Regions from separate parts of the Homo sapiens genome. Here all the other regions are linked to region 3. The links are contacts of gene promoters, found by promoter capture Hi-C in blood cells and fetal thymus (Javierre and others, 2016). All regions are on one chromosome and are shown on one strand. The core of a region is centred on a gene start or on the middle of the fragment in contact, and the rest is flanking DNA. Distances in the headings are between cores, read along the strand shown. Region 1 overlaps CMAS (cytidine monophosphate N-acetylneuraminic acid synthetase). Region 2 overlaps LOC105369690 (a long non-coding RNA gene). Region 3 holds the start of C2CD5 (C2 calcium dependent domain containing 5).

Region 1 (4,256 bases), core at 1,014-3,513, 480 kb after region 3:
TTTACTCATATTATTTTATTAATCCCTTCCAGAGCCCTACGGTAATAGGTACTCTCGATATCTCCAGTTTACAGATGAGGAAACAACATTCATCTTATCACAACTGGCTAATCAGTGGTACAGTCTGACTTCACAGCTTGTGCTAATAATCATTCTACATTTGATACCTATTATCAAACTAACCTCCAGAAAGACTGTCCCAGTTTAACAGTTTGATCAGCAGTGTTTGTTAAAAGAGTTCCTATTTCCCTACAATCATACCCATTTGGAGGATGTGCTTTGTCATTTCTTTAAAAATAAGTAAATAATTAATTCCTGGTCCATTTTACTATGGGTGAATAAAAAGATACCAACCAAGATATGCCACTTCTTTCCAGCACAGGCCCATTTCTTTTCTCCATTCATCTACAACTGCTAGCTTGTCTGATACACTGACTTCCATTTTGCAATCCAGTTTTAAAGAAGACAGCGTCTGCTTTGAACAGGCCCTTTCTGAGATTAGCCTCACCTTAAAAAAAAAAAAAAAAAGGATTGGAGGAAGAAGGGAAAAATTAAAAAGTGAAGAAAACAGAAATCTTTCATAATAATTGACCTTGTAGACAGTCCAAATCACAAACGAGTCATCTTTTGACTTTCTGAAGGTCCAAGTAAGAAAACTGACTGTCGAATTAAAATCATGATGCTTTAAAACAAAGCTCATTTTATTTCTCATAGCCCAATAAAGGTGAGACACAGTATTTTATTTTCTACAATAGAAAGGATTCTATCTACAGGTAAAAATTACAACATATATTGTCTGATACTACTCTAAGATTCTCCTATAATTCAATTTATCCAGAGGAAAGTCTATAACCTCTCTCTTGTGCTGCTTAGCAATACATATTTAGGATTTCTGGTAAATTATAATTATCTTAGCTAGCTTTCATTTAAAAAAATACACTTAAACGTTAAGTTATTTTGAATCAAAAATGTCATTCATAAGAATAAGCTAGATTTTAAAAATCCACAGGATATCGTCCTTTTCTAAAATGGTACACCTATTATCTAGGGAATCTTTCTTGCTGCAAGATCCTTTGGGAAACATTAGATAGCTCCCATTTAAAAGTAGTTATGTTTATATTTACTGAATAAACAAGAAATATTATTTGCTGATTAACAAATTCCTAATTCTACTCATCTAAAACTAAATAGTATAATAATTTTCTAGGCGTATGAAGGCCAAATTTCAGATATTTTAAGAGTTAATACTAAAAATTTAAATCTCTTAATTCCTTGCATGTTCTTTGACCCTGAATCAAAATATTATAAAATACTGCTATATTCAGGGAGCACATACCTCAATACCACTTTTCTTTAATAAACTTATCCCAATAGCATCTTTTACATCATAAGATATTATTTCTTTTTGGTCTCCTGATACATAAATGTGGCCATTGGTGAGACATCCATCAATATTGCAAACCAAAAGTTTTATTTCCTTAAGCTTCTCTTTGCCAAAATAGCCATATCTAAAAGAAACCAAAATAGACCTTTGAGTACAAGTGCAGTACTAATCACTCCCTCTCATCTGGCTAAACCAATACATGAAATGTCACCCTCCATTCAATTATTCAAACATTACTCTCCAAATTTACTTCACATATATATTTTAACATATAGTACAGTAAGTAAAAGTAGTGTGGTCTAGCCAGATAATGTTTCTCACTTTATTGAAGCCATGTAAACACATATTTTACATGTCTTCCTCACATGAACAAAGTAATTACAAAGATCCTAAGATGTCTGAAGTATCAGAAATCAGTATCTAGAAATATAATTATTAAGATTTAGTACAAAGGTTATAAAGGTTTATTTGTTTTTACCTTAATACTCTTTGCTCTGCAATAGGCCAATCAATATCCACATCTATATCCACACTATGTTCAGCTCGCATTTCGTAGTATGCCATTTTTCCACCCTAAAGGTAGTATAAATGTCATGAATACTGTTTTTAATATTCATTCACATATATCAAAACTTTATTATAATACAGAACAATGAATTCATTTCTACAGTACTGAGAAAAATGAATAACCCAGTAAAAATCAGTCACATAAAAATGATTTTTAAATTTATTTTTACTTTTTTATTTTTTCGAGTCAGGGTTTCACTCTGCCTCCCAGGCTGGAGTGCAATGGTGCAATCATAGCTCATTATAACCTTGAAATCTTAGGCTCAAGCAATCCTCCCACCTCAGCCTCCTAAGGATCTGGTACTACAGGTATACAGCACCATGTCCGGCTAAATTTTTAAAAAGTTTTTTGTAGATATAAGATCTTGCTATGTTGCCAAGGCTGGTCTTGGAAACCTGGCCTCAAGCTATCCTCTTGAGGCCTCAAGCTGGCCTCTCAAAGTGCTGGGATGACATGCTTCAGCCACCACGCCCAGCTTTTTTTTTTTTTTTTTTTTTTTTTTTAAGGAGAAAGCTCACACAAAAGAAATAACCTTAACATTTTTCAAATTCTATCTAAACAGTTCAAGTTCCCTATTTAAGAAAATTTCTATTTTAATATTGAAAAAAGCAGAAATATTACATCCTCCAGGTTTCTGACCACAAGGGATTTTGTGGAAATCCCTTAATCATATCCTCCTTTTTTTCAAGAAGTCTCTCCTGTCATCATCCAAAAGCAGTATTAAGGTTTTTGGAACTTCTGTTCTAATTTGCAACTAACAGGCAACACAGGGGAGGAAAAATAACTGTAGCATCTGTTGTACAGAGTTTTCTTAGATCTCTGAGCTACTGATGAAAATGACTAATAGTCATCCAAGTCACATGCAGGCAAAGGCAAGGGCAGTCTCTTGATTCTAGGCAAGGGTCAGCAAGAGAAAGGGTCTTTCTTCTGATAGTAATTATTTGAATGACAAGATCAATTACTGGACAATTTCAATTTCATTTTTTTTTTCAGAATTGTCAGTCTCTTCATAAACCTTGTTTTAATGAGAAACATTTTTCTCCACACTTTAGGAATGGGTTAATCATGGTCCTCCTTAGAAAAAAGCTTAAAAATGGTAGTATCTATGTGTGTCAAATCCAATTTTTCTGAACACTTAAATTTAACTAAACAGCTAGTCTATAGTTTGCCTACACATTGACCAGAAGATTTGTAAAAATGTTTTTCTCTCTTTTGCTCAGAATAATAGTCCCATTAGAATTTTTATTACACAATGGAGAGGTTTCTCTCTCTCTCTTTAAAACCGCTATTTCTTGAGTAACATAAGAACCTGAATCCAAATCCTGACAGTACCATTTATTAGCTGTTTTTGCCTTGAGTCAATTACTTCATATTTCAGTGAGGCAGTTTTCCTCCTCTGTAAAACTGGGTAGAAATGTCCACTTCATTCATTCGCTATGCAGATTACATAAGATAACATATGCAAAGTGTTTCACCTACTCCGAAGTACACAGTAAATAATAAATAATAATGATAACTAAAATTAACAAGTTAAGAAATATATGATGCAACCATGTTGCAGGCTCTAAAATGAGAGAGACATTAAATCTGTTATTTGAAAATGAGAGTCAGGACAGATAAAATGATACATATTCAAGCTTACATAGTAAGAGGCAGTTGACTTAAAGTATAATAAAAAAAAAAAAAAATATATATATATATATATATAAAAAGATTCCGGGTTTCCTGACACCCAGGTTGTAACTCTTTTCACCTCTATGAAATTATTTGTCTTTTTAAAGCAATAGAAGTTATTCAACCCTACAGCCACAATATAACTATAACACAAACATGGATTACGTAGTTTTGAGTGGAATAATATGAGTACCAGGACATGTGTAGACACCCAGTACTTGATTCATTTTTTTATCGTTGTAGCAGAATTCCTTGCATATTTACTGAATGGATTCCAAAGATCACTTTGGGGTAAACCTGCAGGATAAATGCCTCAGATAGCAAATGTTGTTGGCTATTACCTTTCCTCTATAGGTTGATACTTTTCTTTATCATAAAGAAATTGTACCATACTTCTTCCCTAGAACTCAAAGTATGCCTACAAAAGCGCTTAAAAGGGTTATGCAAAATGAAGGTACAAACCTGCAAGTAACCCATCTCTATCAAATGTCTTTTAGCAAAATAAAATGAGCCATTTTCATATAATTCTCCATCCCAGTCTTGTCGACGAGGCCGTTTAGCTGGATTTAAATTCAGAGGTTCGGTCACTTCACGAACTAAAAGCAAAAAGTTAGAGTAAGTCCACGTTGC
Region 2 (4,439 bases), core at 272-2,771, 470 kb after region 3:
GTTTAGAACATTCATATTTAAAGGGATTATTGATATAGTTGCATTAAAATTTACCATCTTTGTAATTGTTTTCTGTTCATTGCATTTGTTCTTTATTTCTTTCTCCTGCTGTTTTTCTGACTTCTCTGGGGTTAATTAAGCATTTTGTATGATTTGATTTTATATCTTTACTTGGTATATCATATATCTTTTATAAAAAATTTAGTAATATCCCTAGGGTTTACAATATATATTTTAAAATAAGTCCACCTTCAAATAACATTATATAACTTTATAAGACTACTCCCGATTCATTCCTCCCATTCCTTGTGACATTGGTGTCAATTATTTCACTTGTCCATATGCTATAGTCACCCTATACATTGTTACTATTATTACTTTAAATAGCTATCTTTTAGATCAATTAAAAATATTATTTTAATTTCACTTGTTCCTTTTCTAATGCTTTTCTTTGTATAATTTTTGACCTATATCATTTTTTTTTCTCTCTGAAGAATATCTTTAACATTTTTGCAGGGCAGGTCTGCTGGCAATGAAATCCCTCAGTTTTCTCCACAAAAGGCTTTATTTTTCACCGTTGAAGGAAAATTTTGCTGAATATAGAAATATAGGTTGACAGGGTTTGTTTCAGCATTTCAAAGATTTCACCTCACTCTTCTTGCTCACGTGTTTCTGAAGCCAAATCTGATATAATCTGTATCCTTAGTTCTGGTTTGTTTTTTTTTTTTTCTCCTTCTGGCTTCCTTCAAGATTTTCTTTGTCTTTGATTTGCTGCAGTTTGAATATGAAATGCCTGGTTGTAGGATTTTATTTTTAATTGTTTGTTTTGGACTTCTCTGAGCTTCCTGGATTTGTAGTTTGATGATACCGTTATTATCTTCAATTAGAGCCAGGAAGCTTAGCCACAGAAAGGTTGGCTTTGGTGTTTGTCATTAGTTTTGGGAGTTCTTAGCCATGTATTATTTCAAATATTTCTTCTGTCCTGTTCTATTTCTTATGCTTCTGGTATTCAGTTATACCTTTTGATATTGGCCCACAGTTCTTGCATATTGTATTCTTTTTTAAAATTTATTTTCCTTCTGTTTTTCAGTTTGGGAACTTTTAAAATTGAGCAATATTCTGGCCGGGCGCAGTGGCTCACGCCTGTAACCCAGCACTTTGGGAGGCCGAGGCGGGTGGATCACGAGGTCAGGAGTTCGAGACCAGCTGACCAACATGGTGAAACCCCGTCTCTACTAAAAATACAAAAATTAGCCAGGCATGGTGGTGCGTGCCTGTAATCCCAGTTACTTGGGAGGCTGAGGCAGGAGAATCACTTGAACCTGGGAGGTGGAGGTTGCAGTGAGCCAAGATCACGCCACTGCACTCCAGCCTGGGCAACAGAGTGAGACCCCGTTTCAGAAAAAAAAAAAAAAAATTTGACCAATATTCAAGTTTACCTATTCTTTCCTTAGCTATCTCAAGTCTACTGATAAACCACCAAAAGGCATTCCTCATTTCTGCTACTGTTTCTTTGATTTCTAGCATTTCCTTTTGATTCTTTCTCATAGTTTCTGTCTGTATTGACATTATCTATCTGATTTTGCATGTTGTGTACTTTTTTCCATCCCTTTTTTTATTAATCATAGTGTAACTGTGTACCCTCATTTTTCTAAGAGATAGTTTTTTACTATCTTTCTTCTTCTCGCTCTCCTTCTTTTCCCCACTTCCTACTTAGGTCTTTAGAAATGCAGTTATAGCCTTTACCTCCTCTTCACCAGACACTCCCTAGAGGGCAAGTTTATTTAACTAGGTTGTTAGAAGCTCCAGAGTGAAACTCTCCTACCAGGAGGCTGCCTAAAGAAACAACAGTCCATCTACTACCTAAAGTATTTCCACTGTGAAACTCTCTCCCACCTGGAGAATTTTCTGCTGCTTTTACAACCTAGTCTTGTCCACAAAGGGACCAGCAGTTACCAGCTTGACCACCCGGTAGATAAGGCACCGAGGCTAGTATGCAGACCCCCCACCTGCTCACTGACTCCTCTGCATGTCATTCATGCCAGCATGCTGGGCCCCCTTTAAAAGCACCCCACTTTCTGCTCCAAAAGTGAGGTGGTACCCATAAAGACAAGATCCTGCTCCTCTTCCCCTAAGCAAGCTTTGGAATAAAATGTCACTTTCTTTATACCTTGCTCCTGTTAATTGGAGTGACTGGACTTGTGTTTTGGTTACAAAATGTGGAGTGGGGAGTGACTGGACTTGTGTTTTGGTTACAATTTTTGTGGCTCATATGGGGAAGTACTTCATGCCCTGGGTGAGCTAACTTTGTCAGCCCAGTTTCACTACCAGGTGAGGTGTGGGGTCACCTGTGAGTGCCAGCTGCTCATGGCTAGCAGACCCCATAATGGGAACATTAGGAAACTTCCCAGAAGCTGCCAAAAATGAATTTGTTTTGGGGGAAGCTCCCTTTTGCCTCATGGCATGACAACTGCTGCCTTTGGTGCTTCACTGGTACAAGCAAAATGGCCTCTTAAGACGCTGACAAACTTTGAAACTGAGTGAGTAGTTGGAGTGTACCCAAACTGGGTGGCCTTGCCCTATTTAAGACTTGGCTCTTTTGGGGTGTCGCTGGGGCCGTGCTATATATATATTATTTTTTTTTTTGAGATGGAGTCTTGCTCAGCTGCCCAGGCTGGAGTGCAGTGGCCCAGTCTCGGCTCACTGCAACCACCATCTCCCAGGTTCAAGCGATTCTCCCGTCTCAGCCTCCCAAGTAGCTGGGATTACAGGCACCCGCCATCATGCCCCACTAATTTTTGTATTTTAGAAGAGATAGGGTTTCTCCATGTTGATCAGGCTGGTCTTGAACTCCTGACCTCAGGTGATCCGCCCACCTTGGCCTCCCAAAGTGCTGGGATTACAGGCATGAGCCACCGCGCCTGGCCCAAGGCCCTACTGTATTTAAGACCTGGCTGCTAGTGATAGCATTTGAGCATTTTATGCATTTGTATTTATTTGAATATGAAGTTCCATAGGAACTTGGCTCAGACTCAGCTTCCTGTGGAGCCATTTGGAACTGGGGCGGGGGATTCAGGACCTCACCCAGACCCTTGACTGGGGACTCATTTGGAAGCACACCATTTGCATGTGTGAATGAATGACTTTTTGTATGGGCCCTATTGCCTTTCTTTGCTCTCTACCTCCCATTTCACCCTCCTGACTATCTCGGAGAGCTGCCCACCTAGGGTGCTGAGACTCTCCCTGATAAATGAGAAGGGCGGGCCTGGTGCCCCCACACTGTGTAATGGTTGGAAGGTTCCCAAGGTTCCATCTGGTCACTTTACCTTTTTTTTTCTTCTCCTCCTTTCTTTCTCACACCCCACTTGTGAAACCTGGCTCCCATGCCCAGTACGAACTTCACCGGGGCATAGGCCTGGCTCCTGTGCAGGCTGTCTTTCCCTCTCTCTTCTTTTCTCCCTACTTTAAATATGCTGTTACTAAGCTGCTGGTGCTGAGATAGGACTCATGTGGTCTAACTAGAATGTAAACGTTGGAAACTGTTTTGAAACTGAGGGAAGAAAAGATGAGTTTGGGTTTTTTTCTTCTTTTTTATAAGGAAGGGGTTTCTTTTGGAGCCAGGAGCTGTGCAACCACCTGGGGTTAGGGGAGCGGGGATGCCAGAACTCCTTTAGCCGCCCCAGCTGGTGTCTAGTAGGTCACGTGCCCCTCCAGTCCACTGTCCCTTGACCGAGTCCAGCACTAGGACTCTCCTAGGTGTTGAAGTCCTTGTGGCCTCAACTGTCTTTCACGTTTATTTAGAGCCTCAGAACACTTTAGCTCGTGGTGGCAAGGCTTGTAGGAACTCAGGGTCTGACAGTTGGGATCAGTGATTTCCCTCTGGCTAGGGCTGGTTTAAATGCTCCCTCCATAGACAGGCATCAGCTGAATTTGCTCTGATTTTTTTCTTTCTGCTATAACAGGGCAGCACTGAGTTCAATGCCTTACAATTGGAATGCTCTCCCTCCCCCAGGACTCAGAGACACTCTTTGCCCCACACTGCTGCTGCCACAGTGGGTCGGGGCAGGGGGCAAGGGGTGGCATCGGTGATTCAAGAGTGTTTTTTCTACCTGTTCAGTTCCTCTTTCAGTGATACAAAGTTAAAACCAGGTACTGTGAGTGCTCACCTGATGCTAGAGGCTTTAAGGTCATAAAATACTTTTATGAGTTATAATAATAATTTGACTTGCCTGTTTTACAGCTATTGGATTCTAGGTAAGGTCTAGGGACATACTGAGTTAGGTAGGTTCCCTACCTAGGCTGGAAGAGTCAGACAGTTGTCTGCAGCTCTGTCCCTTGTCCTGGGCTTTACAATCCAATATATGGTTAAAATTACTTACTTACCAGATTTTTCACAAAAAATAAAAGTTGCTGAGAGTTAACATTGTAACATGTTAATT
Region 3 (4,455 bases), core at 627-3,126:
GATCACATAGTGTAGCCAACCTTCAGAATTCTGGCAAGGGTATTTTAAGGGCAGAGTCAGACTCCAGAAAAAGCTGCAGGTGGACCTAAGGAAATTCGCATGGGATCTATGACCCCTATTCCTTTGACATAGTTTGAATTGATAAAAGTTTCTCTAGTCCAAAAAGCAAGCGATTTTTTTAGATTTTTATTTTGAGGAAGTCGTTTTCTCTGTAGGAGTTCAATTTCTCACTTATGTGAACAATATTCCTGCCATAGAAGGAATTTTTGTCATGAAAAGATAATTCGGGATCACTACTGTTTGGAGTATTTACTCTATTGAGTATTTTCGAAGTTAAAAAGATCATACGGATATCTTCACTTAGGAATGAAATGTTACAATCTTTGAGCCGGCATGAACTCTGATTTTGTTGATACTGGGTATACTGTCAATGCTGATTTTGATATTTGGTAAGGACTGATTTATTTACATCTTGTGTGTGCCTCAATTTCCCTAATATGGTCTGAGCCTGTAGATAACACCTTACTTTATTTATAGTTGGGTCAATTCTTCAAGATGTTTAACGCTCTCCATGTTTATTTCTTGTGGTTGACTATACTTTCCATGGTAGGAAGTCCTGAACTTCTGCTACTACTGTAGGTCTTATCTTTAGGCTTGTGGATGCTTAATAAGAACACTGAGATGATCTAAGAGTGCAGGACATTTAATTAAAAAAAAATTTTTTTTAAGAGACAGAGTTTTGCTCTGTTGCCCAGGTTGGGGTGCAGTGGTGAGATGGCAGCTCACTGCAGCCTCAAACTCCTGGGCTCAAGCAATTCTCCCAGATTCTCCCACCTCAGCTTCCTAGGTAGCTGAGACCACAGACGAGCCACCGGCCCAGCTAATTTTTGCATTTCTTGTAAAGAAGGGGTCTTACTGTGTTGCCTCGTCTCCATGAGGCTGGTCTCGAACTCCTGGACTCAATCGATCCTCCCACCTCAGCCTCCCACAGTGCTGGGATTACAAATCTGAGCCACCACACCTACCAGCAGAAACTTTTTTTCAAGAGGAGACTTTGGATTTCAAGGTGACCTCCCCCACCCCGCCCACAGTAATATCTGTGACCCAGTGCACAACACAAGTGCCTATGACTGAATAAAATATTTCACTAAATATTTATTTCACTATTCGAGATGTGCCTGGTATCTCTATTTCTTTCTTTCTTTTTTTTCTTTTTTTGGAGACAGAGGAGTGATCTCGGCTCACTGCAACCTCCGCCTCGCAGGTTCAAGCGATTTTCCTGCCTCAGCCTCCTGAGTAGCTGGAATTAGAGGCGCTCGCCACGACGCCCAGCTAATTTTTGTATTTTTAGTAGAGACGGGGTTTCGCCATGTTGTCCAGGCTGGTCTTGAACTCCTGACCTCAGGTGATCCGCCCGCCTCGGCCACCCAAAGTGCTGGGATTACAGACGTGAGCCACTGTGCCTGGCCATCTAACTCTATTTCACAGAAAACTGGAACCACCACACGCACCTGTACCCCTTCCAAGTAGAAACCAGCTAATTTGGTTTTACGAATCACTAAAGGCCGACTGAAAACGCTCTTCTAGCAGTCTTCGCTGCTACTCCATCTATCACAGCCCATCCGAAAAGCGGCGGTAGCAGCTGGGAAGGCCGCGGCCGGAGGCTGTCACAGAGCAGCACTCGCGCTTCGGCCCGCAAGATGGAGCGTTTCCCTCCAGGGAAGCAGCGCCGCACCTATCCACAGCCCCCACTCGGTGGATGATGCAGGACTCGGCCCATTTCCCTGCCCTCCAGCTTTCTCAACGTCAGCCCCGCCCCCTTATCTTTCCTCGGCGAGTTTAGTTTCGCCCCGCCAAGTGGGCAGAGCGCCGAACGATCGATGCTTTCTTCCGCGCCCCGAGAGCCGCCATTTTTGAGAGCGGGGGAGGAGAGACAAGCAGGGGCGGCAGAGGCTCAACGGGATGCTGACTGGGTTTTGCTTTTCGTCCCAGCCTTGTGGGGCCGGGACGGAAGAACCCATCAAAGCCCTTCCTCCCGCCGCCTCTCCGGAATGAGGTCTCAGCACCCGCGCGGGACAGCACCCTTCCTCCTGCGACAGTGAGTGGCGACCCGTGGCGCGACTGCCGGGCGCCCGCGCGCGCCCCCGCGCGCTCCTTCGCTGTCAGTTACCCCGCGCGCCTCCGCCCCTCTCCCGCCGGCCCCGCGCTCGGCGCAGACTCGTTTGTTTGTTTCTGCAGGAGCCCAAGAAGAGGCCGAAACCGAGACCATGCCAGGGAAGCTGAAGGTGAAAATCGTGGCCGGGCGCCATTTGCCAGTGATGGACCGTGCTAGTGACCTGACTGATGCCTTCGTGGAGGTTGGTGCAGGGTCCTGCCCCTCAAAACACAGGGAGCGCCAAGCCCTGTGAAGGATCTACCCACCTCGCCCCCAGCCCCTCAGCCTATTCCCCCCTCGACTGCCCTCCCTTCGGCCGTGGTTGTCCAGCTCTCCCACGAGGGATGACCGCCGAGACCTCAGTGTGTGCGATGGGTGCACGGCTTGCAGGCGTCCGCGGCACAGTCCGCTGCGCGGGGAGGCTTGTACTGTTGTGCATGCGGGGGTGACCCTGATGTCAGGACTCATTAACAGGCCACCTGCCACTCAGGAGATCCCAAGGCGTGGCCGCGCAGCCACCGACACACTCACACACATACACACACACACACACAAATGCCGGAATGACTCTGATGTCAGGACTCATTAACAGGCCACCTGCCACTCAGGAGATCCCAAGGTGTGGCCCCGCAGCCACTGAAACACACACACACACAGGCACACACACACCCTTGGAAGGGGTGGCCAGAGTGCTGGACATCATGTTTAAGAAGGTGCATGAAGCCCTTTATGGGCACTTGGAGTCCCACAGTGCGAGGAAATCCACTCTCATGCCTAACATTTTGTGAATCTGCCATGCACGTTCTAAAACACAACTGCAACACTTCCTGCTCTTGTATAGGCTGGTAGGTCTGATGAGGTGTTTCAGGGTAATTTAGCGCCTTGAGGTAGGAAGTCATTTAATTGCCATGGACTTAAATTGCAAAATTGCTTTTTAAGTCTAATGATTAGTTTAAAAGTCATGCAAATTAGTAAAGGCCTACGGCCGGAAGGTAATAACCCAGAGTCTGAAAGAAGCCAAGTAAAGATTGTAATAAAAATTGGCGTGATGAGCCAGAGCATTAGAGCAGCAATCATTTGGGCTATTAGTGCTTAGAATTGATGGATAGATATATCATAATATATAGCTCGATTTCATCTCAATATTCCTGATGTTTCCTAAATGTTCTCTAACCGAATAATTACAGTTCACTGCCTCCCCTGCCCATTGTCATGGTGATTCTTAATCACTTCATTTGAGAAAGTTCTTGAGTGCTCTTGTGCCAGATGTTAGGTGATAGGAATCCACAAATAACTAAAACATAGTGTTTGCTTTCCGGTAGTTCAGACATTGACCCACACAGCCTATTTAATAACTAATAGGTAACGTGTTGAATTTAATAATTGCCAGATCTGTACTAAGTACTTTTAAATTCTTAGTTTTCACAACAGTCCTGCTATAGGAGTATTGTTATTGTCCCATGTTACAGTGGATGTAACTGAGGCCCAGGAAGGGTAAATAATTTGCTTAAGGTTACATAGCTTGCAAACCTCCACAGCCTGACAGTTTGTTCTCTTAACCACTCTGCTAATACGGCCTCACCAAAGTGATGAGTATTGTATTAGAATATGGAAAGAATTCTGTCTCTGAAGGTTGAGAAAGGCTTCTTGTGAAAGTGACATTTGAAGTGGGCCTTGAAGGACACCCAGGATTTTACCAGGCAAAGGGAACATCAAAGGCAAAGGCATAGACTGGGATATATAGTATGTTCAGGAAACTGCCTTAGTTTAGTACGTGTCTGGAGGAAAGGGTATGAGATATGTGGGTAGTGGAGCTTGTTAGGGATGAGGCTGGAAAGCCCCATTTTCTATAAAACCTCATTTTCTGTAATATTTATAAGGAGCGACAAGGAAGCTGAATGCAGGTCACTGCAGCCTCCAACTCCTGGCCTCAAGCCATCCTCCTGCCTCTCCCGCTTCGGCCTCCCAAAGTGCTGGGATTATGGGCCTGAGCCACCACGCCTGGCCAGGGGAGTTTTTTAAGCAGAAATAAAATAAGATCATGTTTGTATTAGTTTGTTTCTTTATAGGATGGCCTGAATGGGGATGCTATTGATGGACTAGACAGATGGGAAGTGTGGCAGGGAGATCAGTTAAGAAGGTGGTAAAATTATCCAGGTAATATGTGGGAATGGGAATAGGAATGGATTTGAACAGAAAGATTTGTGGGACATTTCTTAGGTTAAAATAGTCAGGCCTTGATAACTAGGTGGATTTTGCTGGTGAGGAAGGGGGCTGATTCAGGGGTTACTTATTACTTC

Evidence for each region. Contacts are between HindIII fragments. The CHiCAGO score rates a contact against its expected background, and 5 or more counts as called.
Region 1: a contact is called between a fragment that was not itself captured here and the fragment with the promoter of C2CD5 in region 3, in 9 of 17 cell types (non-activated CD4 T cells, M0 macrophages, naive B cells and 6 more). The highest score is 10.5, in non-activated CD4 T cells.
Region 2: a fragment that was not itself captured here is called in contact with the fragment with the promoter of C2CD5 in region 3 in 1 of 17 cell types (non-activated CD4 T cells); the score reaches 6.5 in non-activated CD4 T cells.

What each region holds. Positions count from the first base shown.
Region 1 is chr12:22,058,533-22,062,788 of GRCh38, reverse strand. CMAS (cytidine monophosphate N-acetylneuraminic acid synthetase) reads right to left here. Exons shown (of 8, transcript NM_018686.6): 4 at 4,089-4,222; 5 at 1,863-1,957; 6 at 1,337-1,508; 7 at 355-508. Among named protein-coding and RNA genes, the nearest start is that of CMAS, 14 kb to the right of the region's middle. The HindIII fragment of the contact is 1,555 bases long and covers 1,486-3,040 here.
Region 2 is chr12:22,075,628-22,080,066 of GRCh38, reverse strand. All of the region lies in intron 1 of LOC105369690 (a long non-coding RNA gene), which reads left to right. Among named protein-coding and RNA genes, the nearest start is that of CMAS, 32 kb to the right of the region's middle. The HindIII fragment of the contact is 1,243 bases long and covers 900-2,142 here.
Region 3 is chr12:22,541,963-22,546,417 of GRCh38, reverse strand. C2CD5 (C2 calcium dependent domain containing 5) reads left to right here and starts at 1,876. Exons shown (of 27, transcript NM_001286176.2): 1 at 1,876-2,098; 2 at 2,239-2,357. The coding sequence starts at 2,268. RefSeq lists enhancers at 1,746-1,975, 3,116-3,635 and a silencer at 2,116-2,235. The HindIII fragment of the contact is 7,848 bases long and covers 1-4,455 here.